2 separate regions of the Homo sapiens genome follow, and region 2 is linked to region 1. The links are contacts of gene promoters, found by promoter capture Hi-C in human tissues and cell types (Jung and others, 2019). All regions are on one chromosome and are shown on one strand. Each heading gives the region's core, a stretch centred on a gene start or on the middle of the fragment in contact. The rest is flanking DNA. Distances are from core to core; before and after follow the strand shown. Region 1 holds the start of DNAH12 (dynein axonemal heavy chain 12). Region 2 overlaps DNAH12 (dynein axonemal heavy chain 12).

Region 1 (6,924 bases), core at 123-2,622:
CATATCAATACCAAAAGTAAAATTCTAGACACTTTTGGATCTTCCTCCCAAGTATGGTATTAGTCTAAAGAATGACAGTTGAGGTAAGTTGGCAGGGATTCCTGTTAGAACTCTAAAACTCACTTATGAAGCAATGAGCCAGTCAGTTCCCCTTCAGGGCTTGTTTCCTAATGGATGAAACTAAGGAATTGAATTAGATGCTCTGTAAATATCCCTACAGCTGTAGCATTCTGGGTGCAAAATTTTCCCGAGATGCAAACCACTACCACCACCACCACAACAAATCCAGTTGTTGAGGGATGATCCCCTTCCCAGTAAAAGCTGATATTTAACATCATTAATGGTTTTTTTTTTTTTTTTTTTTTTTTTGAGACAGATTCTTGCTCTGTCGCCCAGGCTGGAGTGCAATGGCGCGATCTTGGCTCACTGCAACCTCCGCCTCCCAGGTTCAAGTGGTTCTCCTGCTTCAGCCTCCCGAGTAGCTAGGACTACAGGTGCGCAACCACGCCCAGCTACTTTTTTGTGTTTTTAGTAGAGACAGGGTTTCACCATGTTGGCCAGGCTGGTCTCGAACTCCTGACCTCAGATGATTTCCCGCCTCGGTCCCCCAAAGTCCTGAGATTACAGGCGTGAGCCACCGCCCCCAGCCAATCATTAATATTTTTAAACATCAGTATGATATCTTAGTCTTGCTGCCTTCCAAGAAAGTGATGCTATGATCAAGCAAAAAATAGGCATACTTGATGCATGGCAAATATAAAATGTCATGTAAATGCTCAAAAATTTTACTGTGGGCCAGGCGCGGTGGCTCACGCCTGTAATCCCAGCACTTTGGGAGGCCGAGGTGGGCGGATCACCTCAGGTCGGGAGTTCGAGCCCAGCCTGGCCAACATGGTGAAACCCCATCTCTACTAAAAATACAAAAATTAGCCGGGCGTGGTGGCAGGCGCCTGTAATCCCAGCTACTCAGGAGGCTGAGGCACAAGAATCGCTTGAACCTGGGAGGCAGAGGTTGCAGTGAGCTGAGATCCCGCTACCGCACTTCAGCCTGGGCGATAAAGCGAGACTCCGTCTCAAAAAAAAATTGTACTGTGATAACAACTATATTTGCCATGAATGCCTACAGGATTTGGAGATTCCTGCCTTGAAAGAGTGTTTAAGTTGGCACCCAAATCGCGATACCTGCCCTGGGAGAGAAAGGAAGAGAACAGCAGAGAACAAGTACCTGATTGTTTCTCACTACTTCCCCGCTGCGCAGACGCCAGAGAGAGAGAGAGACAGTCAGAGCCTCTCCTCAGGTGAAAGGCAGGGGGATAACGAGGGAGAAACCTCCGGAACGCCACCGGCTCTCAAACGAGTAGCTGGAGAAGGGCGGTCGCTGACCGGTTGGAAACAACGTCGTCGCCATGGAAACTGTGGCGGCCCCAGCTGGAGGGGCTGGGTGAAGGTTGCCTGGAGAGGCAGTTGCCAAGCTGCAAGGGGTTAGGATTACCTGTCACAACAATAATTCGTTACTCAAGTAAATGGGGTGTGAGGTTTTGTTTGTTTGTTTTAACCTAACTGCCTTTCCTGGGAAGGGGACCAGGAAATTAGAATCTTCAAACTGTGGAAAACTGCAAGACTGGAAATTTAGATCTGTTGGAAAACAGATTTATGGAAACACTCTCAGCAAGAGAATCAAGTCTTCAAATGTCCCCTAGTGACACCCTGTAAATATTGTAACTAATCAGCAATATAATTTATCTTGCTTCTAGATTTGCTATTTGTTGACACAGCACTTCCAGGAATTCTTTGGCAAAATCAAACAGGTTAAGGTGTGTGAATTTAGTGGTATGCTGGGAGAAAGATGTGAAATTTTGCTGTTTGAAGCTGCACAATGCATACTACATCTAAATGATAATAGCCTACGAGAATACTATGTGCCAAAATTAAATTAGGGAAGTGAATACTGCCGGTGTGTTAACAGCATATTCATTCAACAAATATTTGAGCACCTTCTATGTGCCAGTTGCTACGTAATTTTTTTTTTTTTTTTTAATGAGAGTACAGCCTACACTATTGTGTCTGGCACAGAGTAGGTGCTCTAAAATGTCATTTAAGCGAGTGAATGAACAAGTAAAACTTCCTGGTAGTTTGTAAAAGCAAATTATCTTTCTGTAGAAAATAAAATACTTGTATAAATAATGTGACTTTTTTTTTTTTTTTTGAGACAGAGTTTTGATCTTGTTGCCCAGGCTGGAGTGCTCACCACAACCTCCACCTCCCAGGTTCAAGTGATTGTCTTGCCTCAGCCTTCCAAGTAGTTGGGATTACAGGCATGCATCACCAAACCCGACTAATTTTTTTTCTTTTCTTTTTTTTTTTTTTAGTAGAGACGGGGTTTCTCCATGTTGGTCAGGCTGGTCTTGAACTCCTGACCTCAGGTCATCCGCCCACCTCGGCCTCCCAAAATGCTGGGATTACAGGCGTGAACCACTGCACCATGCCACCTTTTCTCTTTTAAACTCAGTCCTATGACAGATTAGACAGTTTTTTTAATGTCAATTTGTTAGGGTTTATTTTTTAGAGACAGGGCTCTCGCTCTGTCACCCAGGCTGGAGTGCAGCGGCACCATCATAGTGAAAGGAGTCAGCTAGATTTTGCATTAGGTAGATAGCAAGGGAAGGGTCCCCAGAGAACCCCCAGCCCATGGGTCAGTGCCTCATCCCCACATAACATAAAAAGCAGCCTGGGAAAAAATTCAAGCGGCAGGCACCAATAAGGGAACTAGCACAGGGTGTTGTGCCTGGAGACATGCCCACGGCTCCACAGATAGAAAAATCTCCAGCCCATTTGGACAAAAACTTGCACAGACCTCCTCCTCACTCACATAAAGGAACAAAGAAATGCCTTTGTCCTTTGTATAGTCAATGGGCTCCCAGGGAAAAAAAAGTTTATTTTCCTTTTGTGGGTATGGGCACAGTGGGCTCCAGTAGGTTCCAGTGGGCACTCTACTTTCCTTTATTTGGATTGTAAGTCCGGCTTCTAGGAATCATCACTTCAGCTCCTGATTTGTCCTGGGCCAAGGTCCAGGGCCAAACTTTCTCTTCAGTTCCTGATAGGTCCCGAGCCAAGCTAAGCAGCATCTATGAATCATCATTTCAGCTCCTGATTAGTACCAGGCCAAGCCCCAGGGTAGCGGGGTCGGGGGACGAAGCACATTCCTTCCCCTTCCCAGTCCATAAAAACCCTGGACCCCAGCCTCATAGGGGGCACCCCATTCAGGTCCCCCTCTCTGCTGGCAGAGAGCTTTCTTCTTTCTCTTATTAAACGTTCGTTCTAAACTAACCTTTGGGTCTGCGCTCCTTAATCATCTTGGAGGTGGGACAAATAACTCCAGGTGTTATCTCAGACAATGAGAAACTGTTACATCTTGGTGCATTGCTGAGACTACAGCAATAGCTCACTGCATCCTCAAACTCCTGGGCTCAAGGGATCCTCCCACCTTAGCCTCCTGAGTAGCTGGGACTACAGGCACACACCACGACATCGGCTAATTTTTAAAAATATTTTGTTGGGACAGTGTCTTACTATGTTGCACAGGCTTGCCTCAAACTAGTGGACTCAAGCAATCCTCCTGCTTCAGCTTCCTAAAAGTGTTGGGATTATAGGCATGAGCCACCATATCTAGCCTGAATGTCAATTTGGTTAGGCTAAATTAGAAGAACTAAAGAGAAGGCAGCAATCTTGTGTATGATATACCCACCTTCTCCCAGTCATTAATCAAACACTAATCTAGGGCTGCTGTGAGGAGATTACAGCTCAATTCAAGTCCCTGGTCAATTGACATTGATCTAAGAAGATTATCCTGGGTGAGCCTGACTCAATCAGTAGAAATCCTTTTAAAAAGATTTAGGCCTGGCAAAGTGGATCAACCCTGTAATCCCAGCACCTTAGGAGGCCGAGCCAGACAGACTTCTTGAGGGAGTTTGAGACCAGCCTGGGCAACATGGTGTAACTCTGTCTCTATTTTAAAAAATTAAAAATTAAAAAAATAATAATAAAGAGATGGGCATGCCCTGAGTCAAACTCCAAACAGCAGCTGGGTCTATAACTGCTCTCCATTTTCTGGTTCTTCCCTTCCTGACAGATAGTCTGCCCTACAGACCATGGACTTGGTTAACCAGCCCCCTCCATTGCATAAGCCAATTCTTTGTTTAAAAAAATATATATATATGTATAGACATACACACACACATATATAGATATAGATATAGATATAGATATAGATGATATGTATTATATCTTAGTGGTTCTGCTTCCCACTTTGAACCCTGACTGATACAATGTACGTCCTTTTTTTTTTTACTTTAAAAAAAAATTTTATTATAGAGACAAAGTCTCACAATGTTGGCCAGGATGGTCTTGAACTCCTGGCCTCAAGCAATCCTCCTGCCTTGGCCTCTAGATGTGCTAGGATTACAGGTGTGAGCCACCACGCCTGGCCGATGTACATCCTTTTTAATAGCCAATGTTTCCAAAAGTGTGTTCTTTTACAAGAACAGATTCCTCTTGAGCTTATACAAATAAATAATATTGCCATAAAACAAGAATACTCATGAATAGTTTCCTAATTCTGGAGATATCAGGTAGAGAGAAAGATAAATATTTCAATTTTACTCACAAAATATACCAAAAAGTTACCAAATTGCTATAAAACTACAGATAATGCAGAGAAAAAAAGTTTTCTTAACTCTGAAAGAAAATAATAATAAAAAGCAACGTTTCAAGCAAAAAAGTCATTAAAATCATTTCAGTCCTCATCAGTTCCGTCCCATGTAATTAATTTTTGTTCTACTTGATAAATTAGCAATTTTAAGTCCAGTTTTTACCATTGGAGTTTCTCAAGTTCTTATTCAGTCCAACTTAATAATCAACAGAGGCCTGTATTCCAGAGTATGTATCAGACTTTTTATCCTTCTCATAAACCTCTTTGAAGACACAATGCTTTAGGATTATATTTGCTTGCAAAGATCATTTAGAAAAAACATTAGAATAAAGCAATTTACTACGAACAACAAGATTTAGAATGGCTATGGTGAAAGACCTGGTAAGAGTTTACAACAATGATGCGATTGACAAGGAAATTTGTTTTTTTCTGTAGTCTATAACAAGTTTACATAGTAGCCATAATTATGACTGATAACATACAAAAAGACACATCAGACTTTTAGGAATCTCATATACTTTTAAAACACATATTAATAACATGTTCATATAAATGTAATGCAAAGGTTTCCTGTATAATTTACATATCAAATAAGCCTAATACGTCTCTCTTAGGCTTCCAGGGGCCATTCTGGGATAACCTAAGGTTAGTTTGAGGCCGAAAAGACTTAATTTAGAATTTGAAATTTGACTTTGGGAAGCCTGTCAAGTATGTCAAAGGATAAAAACACTCAATTAAAATAGAAAAGGCCAGGCTCAGTGGCTCAAACTTGTAATCCCAGCACTTTGGAAGGCTGAGGTGGAAAGATCACTTGAGCCCTGGAGTTTGAGATCAGACTGGGCAACATCAGGGGACTCTGTCTCTACAGAATATTTCTTAGCCAGGCGTTGGTGGTGTGCACTTGTGGGCCCAGCTACTTGGCAGACTGAGGGGGGAGGATCACTTGAGCCTAGGAGGTCGAGGCTGCAGTAAGCCATTACTGCACCACTGCACTCCAGCCTGGGTGACAGAGTGAGACACGGTCTCAAAAAAATTGTTTTTAAATGAAAACAAACGAGGAAAGTTTTAAGACATTTGATCAAAAGAAGATCATAGGTCACTGTAAAATAACAGTTATTCATTTAGCCAAAGTGAAAATTTAAAAGATTTTACAAAGCAGTGCTCATTTCGGCAGCACATAATATTAAAACTGAAATGATACAGAAAAGATTACCATGGTGCCTGCATAAGGATGACACACAAATTTGTGAAGCATTCCATAGTTTTTTTAAAAAAAGATTTTATAAAGCAAAATCCTTCACTTTTTCATAGAGAGAAGACTCAGTTTTCCAAATAATGAAAAGATCTAACAAAGAGAGCAGGGCCGGATGCAGTGGCCTGTGCCCATAATTCCAGGTACTCAGGAGGCCAAGGTGGGAGGATCACTTGAGCTCAGGAGTTCAAGGCTGCAGTGAGCTATTATGGCTGCACTTGTGAATAGCCAATGCACTCCAGCCTGGGCAACAGAGTGAGACTATGTTTATAAAAAATATTTTTAATTAAAAAATTTAATCAGGCCAGGTGCAGTGGGCCACAGCTGTAATCCCAGCACTTTAGGAGATTGAGGCAGGCAAATCACTTGAGGTCAGGAGTTCGAGACCAGCCTGGCCAACATGGTGAAACCCCGTCTCTACCAAAAAATACGAAAATTAGCCAGGCATGGTGGTGCGCGCCTGTAGTCCCAGCTACTTGGGAGGCTGACGTGGGAGAATCGCTTGAACCCAGGAGATGGAGGTTGCAGTGAGCCAAGATCATGCCACTGCACTCCAGCCTGGGCAACAGAGTAAGACCCAAAAAATTTTTTTAAAAATTGTTTAAAGACAGCATGAGGCACACAATCTGTTTCTCTCTCTCTCTCTTCTTTCTTTTGCAATTTACTCAAAAAGTGAACAAAATCTTTTACTATATTTTATTTTATTTTTTGAGACAGGGTCTGGCTCTGTCACCCAGGCTGGAGTGCAATGGCGCAATCTCAGCTCACTGCGACTTCAGCCTCCCAGGCTCAAATCATCCTCCCACCTCAGCCTCCAGAGTAGCTAGGACTACAGGCATGAACCACCATGCCCAGCTAATTTTTGTATTTTTGGTAGAGACAGGGTTTTGCCATGTTGCCCAGGCTGGTCTCAAACTCCTGGGCTTATGCAGTCCTTCTGCCTTGGCCTCCCAAAGTGCTGGGA
Region 2 (6,924 bases), core at 62-2,561, 39 kb before region 1:
ACACACACACATATATATATACATATTTTTTTTTAAGACAGTGTCTCACTCTGTTGCCCAGACTGCAGTGCAGTGGTGCCATCATAGCTCACTGTAACCTTGAACTCCTGGGCTCAGGCAATCCTCCTGTTTCAGCCTCCTGAGTAGCTGGGACTACGGCGCGTGCCACCACACCCAGCTAATCAGCATGATATGTTCTTATTAATTTTTAATATTTGTGGGTACATAATAGGTGTATATAAGGGTTACATGAGATATTCTGATACAGGAATGTAATGTGCAATAGTCACATCAGGGTAAATGGGATTTCCATCACTTCAAGTATTTATCCTTTGTGTTACAAACAATCTAATTATACTCTTTTAGTTATTTTTAAAGGGATGATTAAATTATGTTTTGCTGTAGTTACCCAGTTGTGCTAGCAAATACTAGGTCTTATTCATTCATTCTTTTTTCTTTTCTTTTTTTCTCTCTTTTTTTTTCTTTTTTCTTTTTGTTTGTTTTGTTTGCTTTTTGTTTTTGAGACAGCATTGCCCAGGTTGGAGTGCAGTGGCAAGACCTCGATTCACTGCAACCTCTGCCTGCTGGGCTCAGGCCATCCTCCCACCTCAGCCTCCTGAGTAGCTGGAACTACATTCACAAGCTACCACGCCTGGCTAATTTTTGTATTTTTTGTAGAGACAGGGTTTTGTCACGTTGCTCATGGCTGGTCTCAAACTCCTGAGCTCAAGTGACCCGCCTGCTTTGGCCTCTCACAGTGCTGGGATTACAGGCGTGAGCCACCACACTCAGCTTATCCATTCTTTCCAACTTTTTTGTACCCATTAAACATCTCCACTTACCACACCCCCCACCCCCCGCCCACTTCTCCCACTACCTTTCCCAGCCTCTGGTAACCATCCTTCTACTCTTTATCTCCATTAGTTCAACTGTTTTAATTTTTAGCTCCCACAAATAAGTGAGAACACACATTAACAAAGGTAACCTAAAACAATAAATAGAACATTATATGCAAACCCTAATTTTGTTTTTGGTTTTGGTTTTTTGGTTTTTGTTTTTGTTTTGAGACAGAGTCTCACTCTGTCGGTCAGGCTGGAGTGCAATGGCACGATCTTGACTCACTGCAACCTCTGTCTCCCGGGTTCAAGCAATTCTCCTGCCTCAGCCCCCTGAGTAGCTGGGATTACAGGTGCCTGCCACCACGCCTGCCTAATTTTTGTAGTTTTAGTAGAGACAGGGTTTCACCATGTTGGCCAGGCTGGTCTCGAACTCCTGACCTCAGGTAATCCACCCACCTTGGCCTCCCAAAGTGCTGGGATTACAGATGTGAGCCACTGCGCCGAGCCTGTTTCTGTTTTTTAAGACTGGGTCTTGCTCTGTTGCCCAGGCTGGAGTGCAGTGGCACAATCATAGTTCACAGCAGGCTCGAGCTCCTGGGATCCTGGGCTCAAGCAATCCTCCCACCTCAGCCTCCTGAGTAGCTGGGACAATAGGCATGAGCCACCATTCCTGGCTAATTTTTAATTTTTTTTCTAGAGACAGTGTCTCACTTTGTTTCCCAAGCTGGTCTTGAACTCCTGGGCTCAAGTGATCCTCCCACCTCAGCCACCCAAAGTGCTGAGATTACAGGCGTGAGCCACCACACCCAGCCAAACCTTAATTTTTTAATAGAATATCAACAATCTTAAAATGGTGACTCAGAACTTTTCACATTCTTTAGTAATTCTGTCCCTGGTACAGAAAATGTTCCAGAAGATCAAACAACATGGTAAAGACTGAAGGGAGGGGAGGTCTGACAGCCAGAGGTAAGTGTGTAATGGGGGGACATGCACATGGAGTGAGGTACAGTGAAATGCTAGAACTAGCTCCTGTTCTCTCAAGAGCCAATTGTTAAATACTCAAGAATTTTGTGAGCCAGTTGCTAAACTCTTAGAAGCTCGAAATTTACCACTGTGGGAATATTTACACCACAGAAGTCGACAAACACTACAAATCAGGGTAATTATCTTTTTCTTTTATTTGTTTATTCATTTATTTATTTATTTACTTATTTATTTATTATCTTGAGACAGAGTCTCACTCTGTTGCCCAGGCTGGAATGCAGTGGCACAATCTGGGCTCACCACAACCTCCGCCTCTCGGTCTCAAACTATTCTCGTGCCTCAGCCTCCTGAGTGGCTGAGATTACAAGCATATGCCACCACACCTGGCTAATTTTTGTATTTTTAGTAGAGAGGAGGTTTTGCCATGTTGGCCAGGCTGGTCTTGAACTCCTGAGCTCAAGTGATCCACCTGCCTGGGCCTCCCAAAGTGCTGGTATTAGAGGTGTGAGACACCGTGCCCAGCCTCAGGGTGATTTTCTTTCCTGGAGAGCCATATTTCTAGCACACTACTGGGTGAAGGTAAAGCCACTGGAACTTAGAAACATGCACAAGGAGCTTCTAAAGTACGAATAATGGTTTCTTATAGAGAACCAACTGTTGGGAATTTAGCCCAGCAAACAAACATGGTTCTAAATGATCTTCAAGACATTCCTCATCTCTTTACTTTTATTAAATAATCACAGTCCTCTTAAGAGGGTAAAGGTAGAAAGGAAACCATGTGTATTAGTTACAGCATTACATACTAGATATTAAATATGTATATTATCCTTTTAAATATGCTAGACAAAATTCATGGAATTGTTGGAGGTCTTTACTGAAAGGGAAAGTTTTTCTTCAAAACTATTTTTCTAGAATTGTATATCTTCAACAGTAAAAATTTGAGGAGGCCATAAATATAATTTCATAAAATTAAAAATTCCCTATTTGTCATTTAAAGATGATCAATAACTTTAAAAATTTTTTCCACCAGATACCTCTTATACAATGATCAATAACATTTTAAACCAAGATTTTACTGAGAACAAAATGAGAATCAATCAACTTGGAATCTAATAAATTCAAAAATATGTTACTAGAATAGTTCTTTTGTTAACATACTCCAAATAAAGCTATAATTAACTTATATATCCTTTAGGCATGAGCCAAGTAATTACTCATAATACTAATATATACTTCTAGATTTCCTTTCATTTTAGATAGTTTCAGAAACACAATATTTTTCTGCTAAAATTATTAAAATAAAATTACAGTAGAAATATTTTATTTCAAAATAATTACTTAGCACTATGTTTACGTAGAATTCTATTTAAAATATTGAACTAATTTTAATAACATTATCATTTAATATATATAAAGTGTATGTACCTGATTTGACATAAGTGTGGAAACACAGCTATAAAATGCATCCAATTTTTCAGGTTTAACACCTTCTAGTGCCTCCTTCTTGGTAAAGAGATTTATAACCTTTGGATACCATGTATTCATTATCTTCTCTTCTGCGTTTCTAGTTTGTATTGATAGATCAGTTTTCAGTGATTCACAGTCAATTGGACCTTTAGCTCTATTTATGAGAAAAAGAAATGTGATTTGAAGCAAATGATACATATTGGTCTTAAAACACAATTGTTGGGCCGGGCTCGGTGGTTCACACCTGTAATCTCAGCACTTTGGGAGGCTGAGGCAGGCAGATCACGAGGTCAGGAGTTCAAGACCAACCTGGCCAACATGGTAAAACCCCATCTCTACTAAAAATACAAAAATTAGCTGGGTGTGGTGGTGTATGCCTGTAATCCCAGCTACTCGGAAGGCTGAGGCAGGATAATTGCTTGAACCAGGGAGACAAAGCTTGCAGTGAGCCAAGATCGCACCATTGCACTCCAGCCTGGATGACAGAGCAAGACTCCATCACGGGAAAAAAAAAACAAAAAAAAAAAAAACCAAAAAAAACCCACACAATTGTTGAAACAAACAAGATACATTTTTTTAAACTCTAAAATCTAGAGAAAAGTGTTGAAGATTTAGGATTCCATTTTAAAAATTATACAGTCAAAAATATAGACTCAAGCAAGGAGACATTCAAATTTTAAATTAAACGGGATTTTACCTAATTCCTGTGAAGTCCAACAAAACTGTATCAGCAAATGTTGTATAACCAAGGTCCAGTAACATTTTCATAGTTGGATGAATAATGTGCAAATTAGAGAATATTTGATTTCTTGCCTGCACATAGCTAGAATGCCAAGGATTAGAATAATCTAGGCCTCTGGAAAAGCAAAACACCATATCAAACATGATGAAAATAATACACCCTAAACTTTAGGAAATAATGCTTATAACATGAAATTAGTATTGAAGTGAGAAAACTGGGGCTTGAGAAGAGGGAGCTGTGGTCAGCAATGGGAACCTTAAGATATATGCATTTAATAAAAACACATCAAGAACTCAAAACTGCATTATCTTCAGAGAGAACAGAAATAATTTGTGAGTAAGGCAGAGTGATGGGCCAGATCTGAGAGCTCTGCTAACTTCCACTGTGCTTTGGCTCAGTTATCCTGGTAAAAATGAAAGAACACAGTCTTTAGGACTAAAGAAAAGCGCTGGAGAAATCTGTCTGCCATACCCCAAAGCTTACTCAAGGCTAAGTTAAGCTATGCATTCATAAAGATCTCCCCAGTTATGTATGCAGAACTAAATGAGCATAGTAGAGAGAATACCTCTGAGGTAAAAACAAGAGTACTTTTTTTTTAGATGTGTTCAAAATACCTTTGAGCATCACAATTGTATACTTGAAGGTAAGATCAGTTTATTTTTTATCTATATCAAAAATTGGATGAAGTACTGTTTTTAAAATAATTTACTCACACAGGAGATTCAGGTAAAGGACCTCCTTCATCTTCAAGCGATTTAACTGGTGGTTTCACAAGAACGCTCTGCACTAAAATACATGGATATATTAATGCTTCTTGAAAATCTCTGCACAATCTATTAATATCAAAGTTTCTAACTTTTGATTTTGGATGGTATAGTTTACTGTGCATTAAAAGGAATGTAAGAAAAAACTCCTTTATTTGAAACAAAATCAAGTTCTTGGTAGTATTTTGGCCTTACTTGAGAGTTCAGATAACGAAAAGCTTTAATAAGATCTCAGTTTTTCACATTCCATCTACTCAAAAGTCACTAGCATGGCCACTTAAAAAAATGCATTTCATGGTGGCTACCAGGGGCTGGGAGGATGTTGGTCACAGGCTACAAAATTTCAGTTAGATAGGAGGGAACAAGTTCAAGAGATTACGCGACATGGAGGCCGAGCGCGGTGGCTCATGCCTGTAATTCCAGCACTTTGAGAAGCCAAGGAGGGCAGATCACCTGAGGTCAGGAGTTTGAGACCAGGCTAGCCAACATGGTGAAACCCCATCTCTACTAAAAATACAAAAATTAGCTGGGCATGGTGGCAGGCGCCTGTAGTCCCAGCTACTTGGGAGGCTGAGGCAAGAGAATCGCTTGAACCTGGGAGGTGGAGGTTGCAGTGAGCTGAGATTGCACCACTGCACTCTATTCTGGGCGACAGAGTGAGACTCCATCATAAAAAAAAAAAAAAAAAAAAAAAAAAAAAGAAAGCAATTATACAACATAGTGACTAGTTAGTAACAATTTATTGTACCCTTGAAAATTGTCAAGAGTAGATTTTATGTTCCCACCACACACAAAAAATGATAAATATGTGAAAAAAATGCATCAGTTAATTAGCTCAATTTAGCTATTCCACACATATTTCAAAACGTATTGTACATGATAATTATATACAATTTTTATTTGTCAATTTTTAAAAAGGAAAAAAGTTTATTCTAAAAAATAGCAAAGATTATACCCCTAATAAATCTCCCAAAACATATTAGTATTTTCTAGCAAACCTATAAATAGTATAGCTAAAATCATAAAGACAAAGTAAAAAATCAAAGAGAAGTTAGCTAATAAAAAAAATACAAAAAGTACCCTTAAATTGTAAGGATTTTGACTTAAGTATAGACTCAAAATAAAAACTTTAAATAAAAATCGTATCTAAGAAATACATATAGTTAAGGCTGGGCTGAGTGGCTCAGCGTGTAATCCCAGCACTTTGGGAGGCTGAGGTGGGTGGATGGCTTGAGCCCAGGAGTTTTAGACCAGCTTGGTCAACATGGTGAAACTACATCTCTACCAAAAAATAAAAAAATTAGCTGGGCATAGTGGTGTGTGCCTGAAGTTCCAGGTACTCGGGAGGCTGAGGTAGGGGAATCGCTTCAACTCAGCAGGCGGAGGCTGCAGTGAGCCGAAATAGCACCACTGCACTCCAGCCTGGGCGACAGAGATCATGTCTCGAAGAAAAAAAATAAAAAGAAAAGAAGAAAAAAACCAGATATAGTTTAAATACATAGTGTTCATTACTCATTTTGCTTATTTCTATTTTTGATTCAGTGGGGACGGGGGGAGGCCAAGGTGAAAGAAGCCTGGTGTGTGTTAGATGCTACTTACCCAAATATCTCTTCATGCTGTTTTCAAAGTCACTTGACACCTCATTTATGAGACTTTCAAGAAGTTCTTCTCTTTCTTTCCCTTCCTTTAAAGACTCAGGTATCAGCCTTAACATGTGATCCAGCCATTCCTGCTGAATAGGTACTAAAGGACTACTTTCTACACATTGCTTCATATAAATATAGTTGAACTGAGAACATAAGAAAAAATTAAATGTTCTGCATGGTTGTATCATTTCAGTGTAACTCCTGAACTCTCCCTTCCTAAGACAACATTTTTTCAGATTAAAAATATTCTGAAAAATAACATTTTCAGAATAAAAACCATTTAATCCAAAAGTACATCCCACAAAGAAACCATTTTATCTTTTTCTTTATTTATGATGAATTCTTGCCAAATTAATATTCTTAGTATGGTTTTCATTTTCTCAAGGCAAAATGAAGATTCTTTACCTAACTTATTATTCCTTATTATCTAACTTATTATTATAATATATCCACCGATTCAACAAATATTCAGACATTGTTCT

The links. Contacts are between HindIII fragments. The study calls those that stand out against the background at their distance.
Region 2: a fragment that was not itself captured here is called in contact with the fragment with the promoter of DNAH12 in region 1 in 1 of the 25 tissues and cell types used here (mesenchymal stem cells).

What each region holds. Positions count from the first base shown.
Region 1 is chr3:57,542,972-57,549,895 of GRCh38, forward strand. It overlaps DNAH12 (dynein axonemal heavy chain 12), which reads right to left and starts at 1,373. Exons shown (of 74, transcript NM_001366028.2): 1 at 1,226-1,373. It also overlaps the pseudogene RNU6-483P. RefSeq lists an enhancer at 961-1,511. The HindIII fragment of the contact is 14,626 bases long and covers 1-6,924 here.
Region 2 is chr3:57,504,395-57,511,318 of GRCh38, forward strand. DNAH12 (dynein axonemal heavy chain 12) reads right to left here. Exons shown (of 74, transcript NM_001366028.2): 5 at 6,396-6,585; 6 at 4,746-4,818; 7 at 3,988-4,146; 8 at 3,249-3,444. Among named protein-coding and RNA genes, the nearest start is that of DNAH12, 36 kb to the right of the region's middle. The HindIII fragment of the contact is 5,615 bases long and covers 1-4,119 here.